Regions from separate parts of the Homo sapiens genome. Here region 2 is linked to region 1. Evidence: promoter capture Hi-C in 16 types of primary human blood cells and fetal thymus (Javierre and others, 2016). All regions are on one chromosome and are shown on one strand. The core of a region is centred on a gene start or on the middle of the fragment in contact, and the rest is flanking DNA. Distances in the headings are between cores, read along the strand shown.

Region 1 (5,550 bases), core at 1,168-3,667:
GGGCAACAACAGGGTTGGCTGGTCAAACTTCTGTCCATACCACCTGCCGCCTCCGATTCATCAACACGCCTTTTGCCTCTCCTAATGAGAGATTAGGATTAGGACGCCTCCCCCGCCTCCTGCTTCCTTTGCCAGGCTCTTGGGGAGCTGGGCTGCCTGGAACAGCAGTCTGCGGGGTTAGCCGTTTCCCCCACCAGGTCACATGTACACATCCATGGACAGCCCCTAATATTCATGAGAACAAGAGTGTGTGACCTGTGAGCTTGGGAAAGCAAGAGGAGAAGTTGGGAGAGGGTCTAGGATGCGAGCCTGAGTCTGGATGTGGCTCCTGCAGGGAGTGGGGGGAGCAGGTGTGTATGCATTGGGGAGGAACGATGGTGGGGGTGTGGCAACCAAGCAGGGATGGCAGGAGCGTATGTCTCTGGGAAAGCAGGGAGGGAGAGTGGGAGCAGGCGGCAGGGAGAGTGAATGAACACTCGCATTTGCATTTCTCCCAGGAATAAATGTGTGGGGTGGGAGCGGGGAGATTGCCTAGGCTGGCTGTGGGGGTGGAGGGCCTCTGGCTGCAAAGCCCAGGCTGTGGAGAGAAGATGGAGGCATACAGCCCGCCAAATGTGCCATCTGCCTACTGGATGCCCTCCAGGATCCAGGGCTATCTTTCCCTCCACCCAGCAGAGCCTCTGATGGTGTCTTTTCCCAGGTGGGGGGCTGCCAGGGGTACAAGAACATGCTCTTCTCTGGTGACCAGGCTCTTGGGCTGAGGGAAGCCCCCTCTTGCACCAGCTGGAGCCCAGGAACACAGCAAGCCAAATGCTGCCCTCGAGGGCCAGGCTATTAGATCTGCCTCTTCACCTGGTGTGCCAGGGCAGAGATGAGTTCTGCCAAGCCATCTGCTCTGAGGGCCTGGAAACACACGGATTCAGGACTCCTGGGGAAGAAGGTGGAAATGGGGAGGGTCATATGAACTAAAGAAAACTCTCTGACCAGGGAGTCAAAAAATCTAGGCATTGGCCCTGGCTCTGTGTGACCTAGGGCAAGTCACGTCACCTCTTTGGGCCTCACTCTCCTCATCTATACCACAAGGACTTGGACTAGATCTTTAGGGGGCCTCACAGCTGGAATTCAGTATCTGGTTGGTGGAAAGGAGTAGGGAACAAGGAGAGTCACTGAGAAACCTGGGTGGGCGCCAGGGCACAGGCTGGCAGAAGCTGGGGAAGACTCCTTAGCCACCCCACCTCTGCCTTCAGCAAGGACTTGCTCGGCAGCCTGCTCGAGGCACCAAGGAAAGGGGAGTGTTTCCAGATGAATGCCGTTGGCCCTCTGTATCTGTGGGTTCCACATCCGTGGATTCAACCAACCACAGATTGAAAATATTCAGAAAAAAAAAAAATTCACAACGTTCCAAAAAGGAAAACTTGAATTTGCTGTGTGCCAGTACTATGTGGAATCCATGTGAATGGAGTGAGGTGTAAGCATTGTGTTTGGTGTTATAGGTAATCTAGAGATGATTTGAAGTACACAGGAGGATGTGCGTAGGTTATGTGCAAATTCACCATTTTATATAAAAGACCTCAGCATATGTGGATTTGGTATCCACTGGACGTGCAGAACCAATCCCCCATGGTTACTGAGGGACGACTGTACATCTCTGAGGGTGCGGGAGAGGATACTTCCCAGGCCCCCGAGACCCTACACAATGTCTACTGGTGTTTATGATCCTTTCTAGGGCCCACCTCCCAATTTCCATTTGGTTTCCTCCTAGCAGATTTAGAGAATTTCCCGTATCCTCATGATCATCATCTGTGAACTTGAAGTTGGCTTTCAAATCCGATCTCATCCCCCATACACCTTCTCTTTGAACTACCTAGGCCTGCAGCTCCTGTCTCTGGTGATTTTATTCAATTATGGTCTCTGTGCTGGCGCTCTAGGTGAGGGTGAAGTGCCTCATTTCCACCTATTTTTATCTTTGGATTCTGGCTATGAAGCTGAAGCCTTGTCACTCTCTGGCTGGAGAAAGAAGCTGCAAAGACAAGCTCTATCTCTCCATATCCCCCGACTCCAGCCTTCTCTGAGGACTCAGAATCTGAGGGATGGGGCCCCTTCCTTGCAGGGGATGGCACTCCCTGTTCCTCAAAGATGTGGCCTTATCAGGAGAGTGGACAAGGAAAAGAAAGAAGGAGCTGACAGAGTAAGAGGAGAGAGAGCAGGAGCTGGAGGTGGGGGGTGAAGCGGAAGGTGGGGGGAGAATTCTCTTTTGTCAAATACAGGAATGGGGCAGGGGACCCCCTGAGGAAAGAGGAGGGGAAACAGCTGGACATCAGAAGGAATGAGAAGTCTGATTGGTCGCAGGCCTGGCCAACTCCTTGCCCTCCCCCGGGCACCACTGTCTAACCCAAGCCCCAGTTCAGACAGCCTCCACCAGAGTCCCCACCTTTCTGGAAGCTGCAGGGCTCTCCATCCAGGATCCAGAAGCATTGAAGGGGTAAGGCTCAAGGTTGAGGCCTCTGGCCATCGGTGCGCAAATGAGGGCAAAGTGTTTGGCTGGGGCAGGGGATTGGGAAGGGAAAATGAAGAGAGTTTAGGCCTCTGGCCAAAGAAGTTGGACAAGACTTTTGGGTGGGCACTAAACTCTCTTAGAAAAATTTTTTTTGAGATTATGTAATTCGTTTGGGGTGAGGTATGGGAGGTAAGGTGAAGAAACACCTCTTGCTACTGCTAGAGGCTTGCCCCCTTGCCCAGCTAAAATTAAGAAAGGGTGGGGAGGTTAACTGGGCATGGTAACACACGCCTGTAGTCCCAGCTACTTGGGAGGCTGAGGCAGGAGGACTGCCTGAGCCCAGGAGGTTAAGGCTTCAGTGAGCTGAGATCATGCCATAACACTCCAGGCTGGGCAACAGAGTGACACCGTCTTAAAAATAGAAAATAAAATAAAAATTAAAAGATAAAAAAAATTTTAAAAGAAAGAAAGAGGGAGAGTCTACTAGAAACTTGTGCAGCTAGCTTTGGGGAGGGCTGTGTTAAGCCTACACTGGGTATGACTGTTGTATACACTTATGCCTGGATACAAAACCACACCACATGCATTTCCTGACCCGTCTATACATATACGAACTACATGAACATTTGTACTCACATGCATATCACATACATACGCAGGCATCTGTGTGCACACACACACAAATATACACAGGTATCTAAGGAAATTTCCAGATGCGTACACACTCATGCAATCACACACAAAGAACTCTTTTATCTGTAATAATCTGTTTCTAAAAAGCTGCATTTAGAAGTATATTTCATAAACTAACATTCTTTTTTACATTGTATGTTTCATTGTAAGTCCATGTCTCCTAAAGAGACTAGGTGCTCCTAGGAAGGGCTGTGCCTCATTCATTCTGTACCCACAGAGACAAGTCCTGTGCCTGGAACTCAATAGACACCCATAAATGTTTGTTGAGCAAATGCATGAATGGATGATCTTTATAAAAAACCACAAGAGTCAACTGGGCGCGGTGGCTCACACCTGTAATTCCAGCACTTTGGGAAGCCAGGGTGGGTGGATCACCTAAGGTCAGGAGTTCGACACCAGCCTGGCCAATATGGTGAAACCCCTTCTCTACTAAAAATACAAAAATTAGCCAGGCATGGTGGGTGCCTGTAATCCCAGCTACTCAGGAGGCTGAGGCAGGAGATTCGCTTGAACCCAGAAGGCGGAGGTTGCAGTGAGCCAAGATCGCACCACTGCACTCCAGCCCGGGAAACAAGAATGAAACTTCGTCTCAAAAAAACAAACAAACAAAAAGACCCCATAAGATTATTTGATGTTGACATTCTCTAAATCGAGCTTAGTGACTAGCAGTCATGTTCTGAGCATGGGGTTGTTTAAGAGAGGACATCTGTGTGCATGCACCAGTGTGTGCCTCGTTTGTAAACAAGGGGACTCTTGTGAATGTGTCTGTGTTGAGATGTGTCTGCACATGCCTCTGTGAGTGAATATCAGTGTTTGGGTGAGCGTGTAAAAACACTCAAGTGGGGCGGTGGAGGGAGGGGGCTGCTAGGAGATACCCCCCAAGACATAGTCCCAGCTGGTAGGGAATTTGTGCATGTGATGAGAGCACTGAGTCTGCAAGTGTGGGGGTGGGAAGTGGAGTAAATCTGCGAGCCATTCCCACAACACTCTGGAGAGCCTGTCCCTCAGATCGCTGCCCTTCCTCGTGCCCACTTGCCAGGACCAGCCGCTGAAGGGATTCTCAGTCCCATCTGACTCCCCATGAGGCTCCTGGCTTTCCTGAGTCTGCTGGCCTTGGTGCTGCAGGAGACAGGGACAGCTTCTCTCCCAAGGAAGGAGAGGAAGAGGAGAGAGGAGCAGATGCCCAGGGAAGGCGATTCCTTTGAAGTTCTGCCTCTGCGGAATGATGTCCTGAACCCAGACAACTATGGTGAAGTCATTGACCTGAGCAACTATGAGGAGCTCACAGATTATGGGGACCAACTCCCCGAGGTGAGGGACACAGCAGACCAACTACATTCCCTGCATGACACTGGGAGTCAGAGGCCAGGGCCCTCCCATCTGCCCCAAAGTGCGGGTGTCTCCAGCCTCCACCTCTTTCTCTGTGAGGTGGAAATTCTTATCCCTCCATAGGGACTTGTCACTTAGATGATACTAAGAAACAGGACACAAACCTGGGACTTCTCCTTCTTCAAAACTCATACTTGCCTCCCCCTGCCAAAGCTATGTCTCACTGGGGGAGGGGTTCGCAATGTCCTCATCATATTCTCTAGGAAATAAAAGTGCCACATCCCCCATCTCTTTTCTGAAACTGTCCTCCAGTCTGAAGTTCTTTCCCAGGTCCTCTTGGCCTTCACTGCAGCAGCGTGGGGTGCAAGCCCAGAAGCCCCTACTCAATTGTGCGTGAGCCTGGTCGGTGTGGAGCAGGGGAAGAGTGCCGGCCTGGGAAATCGGGAGAGCAGGTTTCGTCTCTGCCTTGACCACCTGCTGGCTCTTTGATCCTCATCCCTCTCCTCTCTGGGCCCCAGTTTCTTCATCCATAGGATGGACATGCTGGACCTGATGCTCTGTCAGGTCCCCTTTTTGCACAGTCTTTCTGCTATCCTTCCCTCCTCCTCCTCCACAGTGACTCTTTGCTGGTTTGAAATCCATCACTGAGGTTCCCAGAGTCCAAAGTTAAGTCCCTTTTGTGCAAAAGCTGGGCTACTGTGTACTCTGTGCTACATCTCCAGGTTAAGGTGACTAGCCTCGCTCCTGCAACCAGCATCAGTCCCGCCAAGAGCACTACGGCTCCAGGGACACCCTCGTCAAACCCCACGATGACCAGACCTACTACAGCAGGGCTGCTACTGAGTTCCCAGCCCAACCATGGTAAGTGCACAGTCACATGGTCGCAATATCCCTAGGTCATAGGCCAAGCAGCTATGACCCAGCACCAGGGGGTACCAAAGTGGAACGTGGTTGGGGTTGGGGCATGGAGGGTCAGGGCTACCCTTACTAGCAGGGAGAGAAGGGGAAATAGCCACAGTAAGAACAGGAAA
Region 2 (5,550 bases), core at 1,199-3,698, 110 kb after region 1:
CCCTCTAGGCTGCCCCCACCAGCTAGCTCTCTGCACCACACGGAACCGGAACCCGAACACTGAGCCGCACTCCCATGTCCAGCCACATCTGCTTGCTCTCCATCTCACCTTCTTCTTCATCTCCCTTTCCCTAAAACTTTTCTGAGCCTCTTCTTGTTTTCTCCCCATTTCTTCAATTTCTTCCCTGCCCTCTCCTTCTTTATTTCTCTTTCTTTTCCCCTCCTCTCTTCCCCTCTCCTGTTCTCCTCCAGAGTTCTTCCCTCCCCTCCCCATCCATCCCCCAAGTCCACACCCCATCCCTCCTGCCACTATATTTAGCTCCCAGCCGGGGCTTTAGAAAGGCGCCACTGCTGGAGCTGGCGTCTAGTCTTGAAGGGTCTGTCAGCATTTCCATAAGAGGCTCAGCTGGGATGAGTTTATGACTGAGCTATTTTCTTTCCTTGCCTCACCGGCCCTGGGCTGAGCATAAGCAGAAAGGGGACCTCCAGGTACATTGGAGAGTTCTCCCCTGACATGGGCAAGCTCTTCCAAAGAAAAAGGAACTATGGGTTAAATCTTAGGTGAATCTGGGACCTAGGTAACTAGCAATTTGTGGGGCACAGCGAGTTAGGACTCTGCTATTGGTTAGGAACTCCCAGAGCCTGAGGGCAGAGCCTTCCTAGCCAGAGCGGGAGCAAATGTTTGCCCTCAGGATTCATCATATGACCTAAGCAACTTTGAAAGACTTCTTTCCCCAAAGTATTCACCAGCCTGCTATGGTCTCTGTAATCCCCACTGTTATAGCCATTTCTTTCTGTTAAACCAATGCCTCTAGAAGACCTCCTATAAAAATCATTTCCAATATTTGATGGACACATTACTAAGTGGTTTGAACACACCATTGCTTTTGATCCTCACAATTTAGCACTTTGATGAAACTTGCTGAGGACACTCAGTTCATTTTTATTTTTATTTTTTGAGACAGGATCTAGCTCTGTTGCCCAAGCTGGAGTGTAGTGACGCAATCTCTGCTCACTTCAGCCTAGACCTTCTGGGCTCAAGCGATCCTCCCACCTCAACCTCCCAAGTAGCTGGGACTACAGGCATGTGCCACCATGCCTGGCTAATTTTTGTACTTTTTGTGGAGATGGGGTTTTGGCATGTTGCCCAGGCTGGTCTCATGAACTCCTGGGCTCAAGCAATCCACCAGCCTCGGCCTGTAGTGCTTGGACTGCAGGTATGAGCCACCCCACCCGGCCAACACCCAGCTTAGTAGCAGTCAAGCCTAAGCTTGAATGCAGGTCTTGCACCTCCGACTGTTGTACTTTCTTCACCACACTGAATGAAACTGCCGCCCTGGGTAGACCAAGAATTTACAGCTACAAGGCCAGAAGCTTCAGCAGCAGGTTCAGAGACCTGGCTGGAATCCTGGCTCTACTACTTAAGTGTTATGTGGCCTTGGGCAGGTCACTTCACTACAGTGAGTCCCTCAGAGGACCGTTATGAGGACATAATGACCTAAATGCTCAACAGATAGGTGTTAATAAAGGGTAAATAGTATCACTTTCATGTTAACAGAGCCAGATCCCTGAAAGTGGGGGATGTGGGACAACCAAGTTCCATGGGACAGGATAGCAGGGATCTGGAGAGGTGTGGGCTGTGGCATGCGTGAGATGAGCAGCAGACCTGGCTAGCATGTGCAGGTGCAGGGGCATGGGGCAGCAAATGCCAACCACCATGTAGTCCCTTGAGTGGGATGATACATAAACACCATTCACATCTATCTGTTCATTTACTCCCAAAGGCTGAGGATGGCTGTAAGTGGGAGACAGAGCCAGCATTATTATCCCCATTTTACAGGTATGGAGACCAAGGTCCAGAAGAGGAAAGTAATCTGCCCAAGGTCACAGCTAATTATTTCATTCATTTGTTCACTCTCTCATTGAAGATATATATATATATATAGTCTACATATAGAGAGAGAGACTCCAGGCTGGAGTGCAGTGGTGTGATCTTGGCTTACTGCAACCTCTGCCTCCCAGGTTCAAGTGATTCTCCTGCCTCAGCCTCCCAAGTAGCTGGAATTACAGGCGCCCACCACCATGCCTGGCTAATTTTTGTATTTTTAGTAGAGATGGGGTTTCACCATGTTGGCCAGGCTGGTCTCAAACTCCTGACCTCAGGTGATCCGTCATCCTCGGCCTCCCAAAGTGCTGGGATTACAGGCGTGAGCCAGTCACTGCGCCTTGCCTTCTCATTGGATATATAGTGAGCATCTACTACATGCAGATGCTGTGTTATACACTGGACATACTCAGTGACAGAGCTAGAATCAGAACCCAGGACCGGGACACCTGTCCCATGAATTCTCCAGTATAAGACTGCCATGCAGCCTTAGGGCCAGAGTTACTGGTTCTACTGGTGACAAGTAGGGACTGACCATAGGTAGAGGACAAAGGTGCACCCTGTATGGATCATCTCTAACCCTTTGGCCTTACCCAACCCCCACCCCATACTAGCTTGGGAAAGCCACATTGCAATGTTTCCCTGAAAGGCGGGCAAAGAAGTTGCAGAGTAAAGAGACCTCGGGCGAGCATAGTTCTCGATCCCTTGGGTCCTTAGTCTTTCTAGAGCCCAACCACAAATGCCATATCTACCACCCCATGACAAGATGGCTGTTCCCCTCCAACAGGAGCAGCTGGAGGGTCCCCCAGGATCCAGAAATCCTGACTATTAGGTTAGAGCAGGGCTTCAGAGACTTCAAGTGAACTGGAGGACAGAGATACTCCATCCCATTCACCTTCCTGGGACAAAGGAAGTTACTTCCTGGCTTCTCTCTGAATGCTACACTAATTCTTCCTCCTGGGATAAGAACATCATTTATAGCATCAGATAATGTAGATGGGTTAAAGGGTGGGAGAAACAGAGGTAGAGTAACTTCAAGAGTTGTAAATAGGACCATGAGGTTGCCCAAGGAGATGTGCAATTTCCCTAAATCTCTCCCATCCATCCATGGCCCATCCACACACCCACTTGAATATCTACCCACCCACCCACCCATCCATCCACCCACCCACCCACCCATCCATCCACCCACCCACCCATCCATCCATCCACCCATCCATCCATCCATCCATCCATCCACCCACCCACCCATCCATCCATCCATCCACCCATCCACCCATCCATCCATTCATCCACCCATCCATCCATTCATCCACCCAACCATCCATTCATCCATCCACCCAGCCATCCATTCATCCACCCACCCAGCCATCCATTCAACCATCCACTCAATATAGTTTATTGGGCATCTATAAGGCAAATGCTAACATTAGTGTTTTCCTCTCTCTCCTGCTTCTTTTTCTTCACAAGATCCAAGGGTAAGAAGGCGGCAAATATCCAAGGGTAAGAAAGCAGGAAATATTTTTTCTAGAGATTATCTCTTCAACCAATCAGCCTCTACTAAAAACCAAGCTAATTCCCCAGATAAACCAGCTTCCCCCAGCTGCTGGTACCTGTGATGAACAATCTTTCCTGCCCAGAAGCTTTTATTGTGTTTAACTTGAAGCCCTCCAGCACCATCTATGCTGCATTTGCTGCTCTCACCTGAACACTTCTTCTCCCCTTTGCTGTTCTATTTTTCATTTGCTCCCTTATTCTCATGGCCTCCAGGAAAGAGCTTAGACCTGGAGTCAGAAAACTTCATTTTGAATTCTAGCTCTTTCAGTCACAGTTGAATGACCATAGCCAGTTTCTCCATCTGCAAAATGAGTATAATAATACCCAGTTGTTGTGAGGATCAAATGAGATAATGGATGGGAAGCAGTTTTGTAAACTGTAAATGGCCTTACTCATGTGAAGGTTTATCATTAATTCCCCCTGTTTCTCTGACACCAAAGAGAGACAAGCTGGGGAAGGCAACAGGACTCTAGGTCAGAGCTGAGAATGATGCATTTGAACCCTAACTCTGCCCTCTGGCTCTCCAGGAGACCGTGGGAAAGCCATGAAACCTCTGAGCCTCGGTTTCCTCACCAGGAAAGGAGTCATTAGATCCATGTGCTTCCACCAGCTGGGGAGAGGAGTTGCTTGTAAACAGTGATGGCTCACTCTCTATTTTAGAGATGCTTCTGAGCTCACCACCACCAATTACCATTTATTGAACACACAAGATGCTATATCCTGGGCTGGGTAACTAGAACTTCCAAAGGCCTAGGCCTTGACCAGGGATGGCAGACTACCTACCCTAGCCCTGTCGAGGAGCTGAGCAAGGCACCCTCTCACCACACGTGTTTCCCTGCCTTCTCTGCTCCTGCATAACTCAAGTAGAAGTGACAGGCCTTATCCCTGGTATAGGCCACCAACATATGGCAGGACCCTAAATAATCAGAAAAAGGAGGATTTCCTTGTCAAGTCTGAGACTACTCAGCTGCCAAGGACTGCTAATCTCTGCTTCTCATTGTCTCTCACAGCTGCACCTCCTTTCTGCTTCTGCTGTCCTCCTGGAGGATTCTCAAGCTGACGTTGTTGTGTAACCTACTAGTGGATCCCCACAGCTTCGGCATTGCTTCTCTCCCATTCCTTCCACCCACTGCTGTCATATTAATCTTCCCAAAATGCTGCTTTGGCCTCTCAGTTTCCTCTTGGACACCTTCAATGATGCTTTGTTGTCTAGAAGACAAAACAACATTTTGAAATCAAGCTGACCTGGTGCCAATCCTGGCCCTGCCACTGATGGGCAGGTTACTCCAACCTCTCTGAGCAACCAGTTTCTCAACTGCAAAATGAGGCCAATAGTACTGCTATCATGTTACTGTGATTAAACCTTAAGATACAGTTATATGCCACATAATGACATTTTGGTCACCAACACACTGCATATACGATTGTGGTCCCATAAAAACTATAATATCAGTCAGGAGTTCGAGACCAGCCTGGCCAACATGGCGAAACCCCATCTCTACTAAAAATACAAAAATTAGTTGGGCGTGGTGGCAGACACCTGTAATCCCAGCTACTCGGGAGGCTGAGGCAGGAGAATTTCTTCAACCTGGAAGGTGAAGGTTGCAATGAGCCTAGATCACGCCACTGCACTCCAGCCTGGGTGACAACAGTGAGACTTCATCTCAAAAAATAAATAAATAAATAAATAAATAAATAAATAAATTATAATACCATATTTTCATGGTACCTTGTCTATGTTTAGATATGTTTAGACACCAGTGTGTTATAATTGCCTATAGTACAATAACATGCTGTACAGGTTTATAGCCTAGGAGCAATAGGCTATACCATCCAGCTTAGGTGTGTAGTAGGCTACACCATCTAGGTTTGTGTGGGTATACCTATGATGTTTGCAAAACAATGAAATCACCTAACAATGCATTTCTCAGACTGTAGCTCTGTTTGTTAAGTGACTCAGGACTGTTTATGTAAGGCACGGTGCCTAGCTTGTAGAAATTACTCAGTATACGTTAGCTCTTTCCCTTTTCCTCTCCTCTTTTCTTTGGTATTACTTCCCTCCATGGTCTCCACAAGCAAGGGGCACGGTGTGAGCCTAATTGTACATCT

The links. The method cuts DNA at HindIII sites, captures the fragments that hold promoters and counts their contacts. A CHiCAGO score of 5 or more calls a contact.
Region 2: a fragment that was not itself captured here is called in contact with the fragment with the promoter of OPTC in region 1 in 2 of 17 cell types (M0 macrophages and M2 macrophages); the score reaches 6.9 in M0 macrophages.

Annotation. Positions count from the first base shown.
Region 1 is chr1:203,491,736-203,497,285 of GRCh38, forward strand. It overlaps OPTC (opticin), which reads left to right and starts at 2,418. Exons shown (of 8, transcript NM_014359.4): 1 at 2,418-2,482; 2 at 4,230-4,501; 3 at 5,242-5,380. The coding sequence starts at 4,271. RefSeq lists an enhancer at 1-523 and a silencer at 1,911-2,139. The HindIII fragment of the contact is 16,129 bases long and covers 1-5,550 here.
Region 2 is chr1:203,600,911-203,606,460 of GRCh38, forward strand. No RefSeq gene overlaps it. Among named protein-coding and RNA genes, the nearest start is that of ATP2B4, 23 kb to the right of the region's middle. RefSeq lists an enhancer at 1-339. The HindIII fragment of the contact is 2,154 bases long and covers 1,372-3,525 here.